Regions from separate parts of the Homo sapiens genome. Here all the other regions are linked to region 1. The links are contacts of gene promoters, found by promoter capture Hi-C in blood cells and fetal thymus (Javierre and others, 2016). All regions are on one chromosome and are shown on one strand. The core of a region is centred on a gene start or on the middle of the fragment in contact, and the rest is flanking DNA. Distances in the headings are between cores, read along the strand shown.

What was found. The method cuts DNA at HindIII sites, captures the fragments that hold promoters and counts their contacts. A CHiCAGO score of 5 or more calls a contact.
Region 2: a fragment that was not itself captured here is called in contact with the fragment with the promoter of PGK2 in region 1 in 1 of 17 cell types (megakaryocytes); the score reaches 5.5 in megakaryocytes.
Region 3: a contact is called between a fragment that was not itself captured here and the fragment with the promoter of PGK2 in region 1, in 1 of 17 cell types (erythroblasts). The highest score is 5.6, in erythroblasts.

The regions. Positions count from the first base shown.
Region 1 is chr6:49,785,414-49,788,940 of GRCh38, reverse strand. It overlaps PGK2 (phosphoglycerate kinase 2), which reads left to right and starts at 1,656. Exons shown (of 1, transcript NM_138733.5): 1 at 1,656-3,281. The coding sequence starts at 1,754. The coding sequence ends at 3,007. The HindIII fragment of the contact is 4,736 bases long and covers 1-3,527 here.
Region 2 is chr6:49,554,641-49,558,167 of GRCh38, reverse strand. It overlaps a transcript of C6orf141 not described here. Among named protein-coding and RNA genes, the nearest start is that of C6orf141, 5.7 kb to the right of the region's middle. The HindIII fragment of the contact is 1,015 bases long and covers 743-1,757 here.
Region 3 is chr6:49,591,523-49,595,049 of GRCh38, reverse strand. No RefSeq gene overlaps it. Among named protein-coding and RNA genes, the nearest start is that of C6orf141, 43 kb to the right of the region's middle. The HindIII fragment of the contact is 6,483 bases long and covers 1-3,527 here.

The sequences.
Region 1 (3,527 bases), core at 407-2,906:
CATCCCTATAGTTTTGCCTTTTATCAAATGTCATACAAATGGAATTATACAATAACTACAAAATTTTTTTGCCTGGCGTCTTTCAGTTAGTAAGGCACATTTAAGTTTTATCCAGGGCTTTTGTGTAAGTAAATAGCTTGTTTCTTTTCTTTTTTTAAAAAATAATATTCCATTGCATGGATATATCACAGTTTATTTATTTATTACTTGAAGAATATACAATTTTGGTAATTATTAATAAAACTGCTCTAAACGTTTGTTTACAGAAGTTTGAGAGAATACAGGTTTTTGATGTCCTTGGATGAATATCTAGAAATAGGATTGATGACTTGTATGGTAAGTCTATGCATATTTCTAAGAAATTGCCAAGCTGTTTCCCAAAATGTCTGTAGCATATTTCATTCCTGGGAGCAACAAATGAGAGTTTCTGTTACTATATATTTTAACACCATTTAAGTTTGCTTTTAAATGCTGTTGACTCGATGTTCAACATTGAGGAACCGATAAACTGTTTTTTAAAGTGGCTGCACCATTAGACATTCCTATCAGCAATAAATGAGGATTCCAATTTGTCCACTTCTTTCTCAACACTTGTTTTTATTTTTTATTTTAGCCATCTTAATAGGAGATGCCTCAAATATATTTCTGTCAAAGCCTTCATTTTACATATTTAGTTCACTCAACTTATGGAGTAGAATGAAAAAAACTGTAAAGCCAATTTTCATTACTAAACCAACTAGCCACATACATTTGCTTTCTCCAAAAATAGAATATCTTACTCACTTTCAATTCTAATATATGTTTTCATCTTCATGAAAACCATGCATTTATTTTTCAGCTCAATTTCTAAGTTGTACAGGTAGGAAAGCAAACAGAGAGGAGACAAAAAATAAGGAGCCTCATCATAACATTGTAGTCTGAAAGAAATGTCACCATTACTTTCAGCACTTGTTACTGATACTCTCTTTGCTATGATCTTATGGGATTCTCCTGCAGAAGTGACCAAACATTCTTTCATGGTAGTCTGAAAATGGAAGAAGCAAAGTAATGAAAATATGACAGCATTCCCACCACGTCCCAGAATAGATCTAAAGATGAAGACTAACAACAAGCCACATCCTCAAAGAAATATTTATCAAGACAAGGAAAAAACAGAACTATACTATCCTGACTTGAATAAGCAAGGTTTCATATGAAAATCATTATTTCAAATATTCCTTTTATTTGGCACTGCAGAGGTTTTTACATATCAAAATGGTTAAGATTTGACATGAATGAGGTGTATGTAGGTTTGCGGGGGTGGGGGTGGAGTTCTTTTTGTTTTGTTTTTAATAATAAAAGCAACTGTTAACCGAGCTGTGGGGTGGGGGCAAAAAGAGCCAGAAGGCGGCGCACACCTCAGGACTATTCTTGTTTTTTTAGAACCATTCTTATTCTGGGGTTTCTTCACCTACCCAAGTCTCGCCTGAAGCCAGGTACAGCTCTATTCCACTACATGACCCTCTGCCCAGGAAGTTGGAATCTTCACCTAGCAACACAGTTCAGATCGAGATTGACAGGACCATGAGCCAATCACAAAGCTAGATTTGCTTTCCAGTCTAACAGTGGCCGTTGTGCTGGAGACAGTGAGGAGAAGAAAGGGGCGGGACAAGGGCAAAGGCGTTAGAAGTCACCACCGACCCAGCCCCTCAACAGCAAGTTGGTTCTTCAGCATTAAGATCCAGGTGTCAGCCTATGTCTTTATATTGTCAAGATGTCTCTTTCTAAGAAGTTGACTTTAGACAAACTGGATGTTAGAGGGAAGCGAGTCATCATGAGAGTAGACTTCAATGTTCCCATGAAGAAGAACCAGATTACAAACAACCAGAGGATCAAGGCTTCCATCCCAAGCATCAAGTACTGCCTGGACAATGGAGCCAAGGCAGTAGTTCTTATGAGTCATCTAGGTCGGCCTGATGGTGTTCCCATGCCTGACAAATATTCCTTAGCACCTGTTGCTGTTGAGCTCAAATCCTTGCTGGGCAAGGATGTTCTGTTCCTGAAGGACTGTGTAGGCGCAGAAGTGGAGAAAGCCTGTGCCAACCCAGCTCCTGGTTCAGTCATCCTGCTGGAGAACCTGCGCTTTCATGTGGAGGAAGAAGGGAAGGGCCAAGATCCCTCTGGAAAGAAGATTAAAGCTGAGCCAGATAAAATAGAAGCCTTCCGAGCATCACTTTCCAAGCTAGGGGACGTCTATGTCAATGATGCTTTTGGCACTGCACACCGCGCTCATAGTTCCATGGTGGGAGTGAATCTGCCCCATAAAGCATCCGGATTCTTGATGAAGAAGGAACTAGATTACTTTGCTAAAGCCTTGGAAAACCCAGTGAGACCCTTTCTGGCTATACTTGGTGGAGCCAAAGTGGCAGACAAGATCCAACTTATCAAAAATATGCTGGACAAAGTCAATGAGATGATTATTGGTGGTGGAATGGCTTATACCTTCCTTAAGGTACTCAACAACATGGAGATTGGTGCTTCCCTGTTTGATGAAGAGGGAGCCAAGATCGTTAAAGATATCATGGCCAAAGCACAAAAGAATGGTGTAAGGATTACTTTTCCTGTTGATTTTGTTACTGGGGACAAGTTTGACGAGAACGCTCAGGTTGGAAAAGCCACTGTAGCATCTGGCATATCTCCTGGCTGGATGGGTTTGGACTGTGGTCCTGAGAGCAACAAGAATCATGCTCAAGTTGTGGCTCAAGCAAGGCTAATTGTTTGGAATGGGCCGTTAGGAGTATTTGAATGGGATGCCTTTGCTAAGGGAACCAAAGCCCTCATGGATGAAATTGTGAAAGCCACTTCCAAGGGCTGCATCACTGTTATAGGGGGTGGAGACACTGCTACTTGCTGTGCCAAATGGAACACTGAAGATAAAGTCAGCCATGTCAGCACTGGAGGCGGTGCCAGTCTAGAGCTTCTGGAAGGTAAAATCCTTCCTGGAGTAGAGGCCCTCAGCAACATGTAGTTAATATAGTGTTACTTCCTTCTGTTTTCTGTCCATGGCCCTTAAGTCAGCTTAATGCTTTTACATCTCGATGTGACTTTTGTTAAAATCTACTCCTAGATCAAGACCTATGTAATGGACAAGCAGCAGGCCATCAGGAACTCTTAATATCAGCACAGCAATTCATTTTAGTTTGGTCACGCATTTGCCTGTTCAAGTTCTCATTTGAACTTCACCATTGTGCTATCTAGGGAGGACATATTCTTAAGTTGCCTATTAAAGAAAGTGAGCTGAAGAAACTGAATCTTTTTATTTTAGTCCAACTTTGCTATTGTTTCATAATTTGAAACCCAAAAGATAAAACTTAATTTGTTGGGAAAGGGTGGAATGAAAGTTGACAAACAAACAATAAATATGCCCAAATAAACTGAGAAAAATAATTACATATAAAGAACTCATGGGTACCATTAAAGTTCTGCTAAGGGGAAATGTTATACTAAATAGGACCAAAAAAAAGAGAAATGAAAGACACTTATTAAAC
Region 2 (3,527 bases), core at 1-2,500, 230 kb after region 1:
ACTTTGGGAGGCCAAGGCAAGTGGATCATTGAGGCCAGAAGTTTGAGACCAGCCTGGCCAACATGCCCAAAACCCGTCTCTACTAAAAAAAAAAAAAAAAAAAAAAAACATATTTGAGTGTAACGGCATGCACTTGTAGTCTCAGCTACTCAGGAGGCTCAGGCAGGAAAATCACTTGAACCCGGGAGGCGGAGGTTGCAGTAAGTCAAGATTGCGCCTCTGCCCTCCAGCCTGGACAACACAGTGAGACTGTCTCAAAAAACAAACAAACAAAAAACAAAAACTATTGCATTAGGGGAGAGAGATTGAACTTAATTCCTTTGAAACAAAAGGTGGGAATATTTTAAGCATTAAGGCGAGCTAGAGAAAAACTACGAGACAATGTTAAAAGGGACATTGGTCAATGTGATTATGCCATCTATGTTTGCTGATTGGCACTTTGAGAAGCTGGGCTTCCACCCTCCCACAGAGACTGATAGTTAGAGACCTCTGAGTTTTGTTTGTTTGTTTGTTTGTTTTCAGTGATTACACTTCACAGTAATGGCTCCTAGGTCCTCAAGAAAGACATACCTGGATCTTTCTTAGATTTACATTTCAAAGGGGCAGAGAAATAATTTACCATTCAAAGTCTTCTAAAGTAAATGCTCTAAGAAAAGGAAAGTCAGGGACCTAAGTCAAGAAGCTTATCTGAAATTTAGTCAAGCTGAGGAATGGGTAAGATCATCTTGGCCACTACAAAGCTTTCCTATTGCCCTACCTGCCTTCGCTTTCCTGCCAAGCACAAATGATGTTGGCTGACTCTCTTATTATAGCAAGCTCTGCAAACACAGCCTCTGTTTGTTCTATTTTGGGGAGGGCTGCAGTCTCCTCAAAATACTCTTGTTCTGTTTATTTATTAATTATTATTATTATTTTGAGATGGAGTTTTGCTCTTGTTGCCCAGGCTGGAGTGCAATGGCGCGATCTCAGCTCACTGCAACCTCCTCCTCCTGGGTTCAAGTGATTCTCCTGCCTCAGCCTCCTGAGTAGCTGGGATTATGGGCATGCACCATCACCTCGGCTAATTCTGTATTTTTAATAGAGATGGGGTTTCTCCATGTTGGTCAGGCTAGTCTTGAACTCCTGACCTCAGGTGATCCACCTGCTTTGGCCTCCCAAAGTGCTGGGATTACAGGCGTGAGCCACCGTGCTTGGCCTCTTGTTCTGTTTTAAGGTTAGAAATGTAAGTTTGAATTTGGTTAGTTCCTTGCTTTGAAGATAACCAAGTCTTAATGTTTTGTTTGTGACTATTGGCTGCATAATGCCTGAAAACCAATCATAACTCCTTACTCTCTCCAAAGTAATCTGGACTTTATCTTCATCTAGAGAAGTAAATTCACAGATTTGCCCTCCCTAATTACAGAGCAAAGTACTGACTGCAGTTATAGAGATGTCATGGTGTTCAAGAGTCACAGCCCTTTGTTTACTTATCTGAATCAGTTGATTCAAATTCTGGCTCCACCTTTTCCCCACCCCTCTCAATTCATCACAAGTGGCTGACAAGTTCTGACTCAGCCTGCAGAGTTGCAATTGTGCAATGTGTTAATGACTTCCTGCTTTTTCACCTTTACAGGAGTTTTTTATAATGTATTATTTCATATTCCTAGACAACAAAATAGCCATATTTCTGAAATAGTTTGAAATTCAATGATGAGTCAATGGTTCATTAGGACAAACTTTCAAATAATAAGGCTCTTTAAAAAAGACACTATAAAGCTTCATAGAGATCTCTTCGCCAATTTACCCATTCATATCCTCTATCTTTCACCTTCCTGTAATCTTTAACTGTGTTCAAAACTCTATGAATTATTATCTTCATGGCATTGTTAACAATTAATTGGGAATACAGAATAAAAAAACTTTTCAGTTTTGGTAAGTGACAAAATAGGATACAGAACTAAATATATGAGAATATGTCAGTGTTTCTCAAACTTTAATGTGAATCATCCAATGATCTTGACAAAATGCGAATTCTGATTCAACAGATCTGGAATGGGGCCTGAGATTCTACTTTTCTAAAAACCTTCTTGGAGATGCCCACGCTGCCGTTTCACAGAACGCCCATCTTGAGTAGCATCAGTATATGTTTGTTTATATACAGATCATATTCAGAAAATATACAGAGGTTACATTAATACTACTTTATATAGTTTATGCTTAGAAAGATGTATGTATATATGTAGGTATATTCACATGAAAATACAATAAAATAAAACCACACTTGGCCAGGCATGGTGGCTGATGCCTATAAGCCCAGCATGTTGGGAGGCCAAGGCAGGAGGATTGCTTGAGTCCAGGATTTTAATACTAGCCTGGGCACGCCAGGTGCGCGGTGGCTCACGCCTGTAATCACAGCACTTTGGGAGGCTGAGGTGGACAGATCACGAGATCAGGAGATCGAGACCATCCTGGCTAACATGGTGAAACCCCATTTCTCCTAAAAATACAAAAAATTAGCCGGGCGTGATGGCGAGCGCCTGTAGTCCCGGCTGCTCGGGAGGCTGAGGCAGGAGAATGGCATGAACCCGGGAGGCAGAGCTTGCAGTGAGCGAAGATTGCGCCACTGCACTCCAGCCTGGGCAACAGAGCGAGGCTCCGTCTCAAAAAAAAAAAAAGACTAGCCTGGGCAACATAGCAAGGTGCTGTCTCTATAAAACAAAAACAAAACAAAACAAAAAATTCATGCTTGAAACTTGCCAAATATTAAAAGAGATTTGGGGTCATCTGTAAATTTTTGTTTCCTTTATTATATCTTCTTTTTCTTCATAATATTTTCCCAATTTTTATGCAGTGTATACAACTGTTTCTTTTAATAAAAAGTTTTTTTCTTTTTCAAAGCAAAGAGCCACATCAAGTTTTATCACCAAGCACTGGTAACATCCAACAAAAATAAGCAGTAAGTCAAATGTAATGATTCCCAAAAGGAGATCATGGTTGTAAACAAAGAGTTTTAAGAGAGGATAACACTTGCCTGATCCTGGGGGTTATGCGATTCTGACATTTATCTTATGGTCACTGGAGTGGCTTCTGGAAGTCTTTGATGCGGTTCATCCACCTAACACAATTTTAGATAATCATGTTTTTCAGAGGAGTAGAGGTAAGATCAAAGAGCCAAGATCCAGTCATTCTCAGAGATTTCTTAGTATTGAGGATGCCCAAGTTTCACTTTGGATGCACTCCCAGGACATTTGTAAACGGGATAAGATTTCTCAGGCTCTTCAAATAACAGGGTTCTGCTTGGATCAGGAACACCTGTGAAGCAAATTCAACAGTATTTGGACTTACTACTTTTTGTTTCCAATGAAAAGGAACTCTATATTAAATGAAATCTATAAACATGTTCTAGGCAGTTAATAGGGAAGTTGAGTAAGCACTTTAAAAATAAATTTTCATTGCTTGAAACAGTGAGAAAAGGAAAAAAAAAATCACTTAAAATTAACTCAAACAGGCCGGGCATGGTGGCTCAGGCCTGTAATCCCACCACTTTG
Region 3 (3,527 bases), core at 401-2,900, 190 kb after region 1:
GAATCACATGAATCCAGGAGGCAGAGATTGCAGTGAGCCGAGATCATGCCATTGCACTCCACCCTGGGCAACAGAGCAAGACTCCATCTCAAAAAAAAAAAATATATATATATATATATATATTTAATGATATAATTTATATATATATATAAATTATATCAGATCTTCTTTTGAACAAAGTCATTCTCCCTTCTTTTGGCCTTGAATTTAATCCCTTCTTAATCTTTTACTATTTAAGTATCTTTAGACAAAATACTTTCTCTCTGAGCCTCTTTATTCAGTTATAAAAAGAGATAATACCTACTCTGCAGAGTTATTTTGAGGATGGGGAGGGACACACAATTCAGTCTATAACAACCATCGGATCCTGATATCCCATTCAAGTTTTGCCAAATGTTTTCATGATTTCCATTATAGCAAAATGATCTAGTTCAGGATTCCACTTTATACCTAGTTTCTTGCCTCTTTAGTCCTTCAGTCTGGAACAGTTCCTTGGTGTTTCTCTGACTTTCATGACCTTGACACTTTTGAAGAATGTAGGCAGTTATTTCATAGAAGGTCCCCACTCTGGGTTTTGCTGATGTTTCCCCATGATTAGATTTAGGTTATACAACTTTAAGAGCAATATCACAAAAGTGAGCCTATATACTGAATTGCATCCTACCAGGTGGAATTCTTTTTGAACTTGTTCCATTATTAATGATTATTCACTTCAATCATTGATGGAGAGCGTGTTTCTCTGCTTTAAAGTTTCTTGTTTTTATCTTTATAATTCATTTTATTTTGTGTGAAAGCAATATGAAATCTTCCACATCCCTATGTCAATGTCCCATTCCTCCTTAATCTTTCAATGCATTCATTTATTAACTTATATCCCTATAGATTCATGATTTTTTTATTTTATTAAATTATTTACAATACATTATAAAAACATTTGTTGTGACGGTGAAATTGTCCCAGATTTGCCAGTGCAAGTCTATTCATGCTGGTTCCTATGTCTTTCTGAGATGTGCTCATCTTATCCTTTTCCTGTTCTAGCTGTTTTCTCAATTCCTAATTTCTTTGTTTTTGTTTTGTTTGTTTGTTTGTTTGTTGTTTGTTTGTTTTTGAGACAAAATTTTGCTCTTGTTGCCCAGGCTGGAATGCAATGGTGCAATCTCGGCTCACTGCAACCTCTACCTCCCGGGTTCAAGCGATTCTCCTGTCTCAGCCTGCCGAGTACTTGCGATTACAGGCACCCGCCACCAAGCCTGGCTAATTTTTTGTATTTAGTAGAGACAGGATTTCACCATGTTAGTCAGGCTGGTCTCGAACTCCTGACCTCAGATGATCCACCTGCCTCAGCCTCCCAAAGTGCTGGGATTACAGCCATGAGCCACCGCACCTGGCCTCTGATTTCTTTTAGTTGTATTTATAGTCTGAGATCTGCAAGCTATGTGTGCTCATTGCTATTGGGATGCTGCCTTTCTCCAGCCCTCTCAGTTGGAGAGATAGGGAATATAAATGTCTCTGAAGGCATATATGTGCATCTACAATTATTTCTATATCTATCTATATATTTTAATATTCAATGAGTTCTGCTATAATGCTTGTTTGGAAAATGTGAATCTGTTTCAGTACAATTGACATATTAAGGAACAAATTAAGCATAGCATATATTTTGTGTTTGCTTATGCATTATTTTGTTTACAAGAAACACAAGATGAAAACAGAAAACTGCATCCAGCTGAACCAAGCCTGGACACAAAATATGCACATACACACATGCACAAATCTCTACATTACCTCAGTTCATCTCATGTGCTATGAGCTATACCCATCTCATCTAATGTCACAGCTTTCTGTCTGATTTAAAGTAAACCTCTTCCACCATTGCATAAGTTGCAATTCTTCTGTTCCCCACTTCCACAATCAAACTTCAGGTCCTTTTCAAGGTAAAATGACATATTTAGTATAATATTTATGTACTTCTTACCCACTTCACATGTGTAAACTGTACTATCATTTTTAAGTTTCAATCTTTTGTGTGTGTGTCAATAATGAAGTATTTGAGTTTTGTGCTCCAATATTATTTTATCATAAGCCCTGTGGGTTTTATTGTATAATTCTGCATGGCACAACAATTTTAAGTAATCAGCATGTCATGTTATAAAAGAACTGATTCTATCCAAAATCATAGGTTTGTTGCCCTGTATGGTGGCTCACACCTGTAATCCTAATACTTTGGGAGGCCAAGACAGGAGGATTGCTTGAGCTCAGCCTGGGCAACATGACAAGACCCCATCTCTACAAAAATAAATGAATTAGCCAAGCATGGTGGGGTGTGCCTGTGGTCCCAGCTGCTCAGGAGGCTGAAGTGGGAGGATCTCTGGATTCTGAGAGTTTGAGGTTGCAGTGAGCCATGTTCATGCCACTGTACAACTGGCCAGATGACAGAGCAAGACTTTGTCTCAAAAAAAAAAAAAAAAAAACCAAAAAACAAAACCTATAATTTTGCACAAGATGTCTAATTCTAACCCAACACTCAAAGATTCATTCTGGTTTTCTCATTTTCTGTATTTGGAGCTCCTTTCTCCAACAGCAACAAATCAGATTCCTATCATCCTTACTATAATTACTTAATTGATCAAGCTCCTGTATGTAGCCAATCTCTTATCGCTACTGTTGCCCCATTCTCCATGCAGATGGCTTCCACACCACCCACAATCAGGCTCCATAACCAGGGTTTCCCCTGTGTGTATGCCACTTCACCCTGCACAAGGCTATGACAATGCACACCAGACCACTCTTCCCTGTGGTCACCCTTCTCACGCCTCTTGGCTCTTATTCTCCCCAGGGAGCAGCCCTTTTACATGCACACACTCCTCACACTGCTCAGGCTCCAACATGTCGTGATCTCAAACATCACATCCCCTCATCACCAGGTGTGGACACCTACCTAGTTCTACCCAACTCAATGGCTATGTAACCGAATTGTTCATTAAAAGAAAAAATGAGAGAGGAAGAGCAAGAAAGAGAGTTGCCATTTGGGGCAGAGGAATAAAGAGTAGTGAACTATCACTCTGGGAGAATTCTATTTCCTGGACTTGCATTATGGAATTAGCTCTATTTTACTTTGGAAGAGTCTTTTACTCTTCTTGAAGGAGTGAGCTGGGGACAAATTCCTAGCCATCTTTCTTCCAAAATTCCAGTGGAATATACACAAAATGGGGCATAAAATGACTAAAAAGTATTGCTCCATAAACTGGTGGTTTAATAATTGTGGATGTTTAATGTGTTATGTGTTAAGGAAATTCATTTTATCCTTGATTTCAAGCAGAAAGTGATTTTTCAGTTCAAAGTGAGTTCTGCATGTCCATGATAAAAACATATAAAACATACTTCTTTTACAGATAAAATGCTGCCAAGGAGGGAGGAAAAGTATGTAGGCACCAGAGCACATAAGCAGTGAGCTGTTATGATGCTCCAGTACATCCTGGTTGTCTGTTTGTTGACTTCACCAGCAAACAGTCAGGATTTAGCTTATA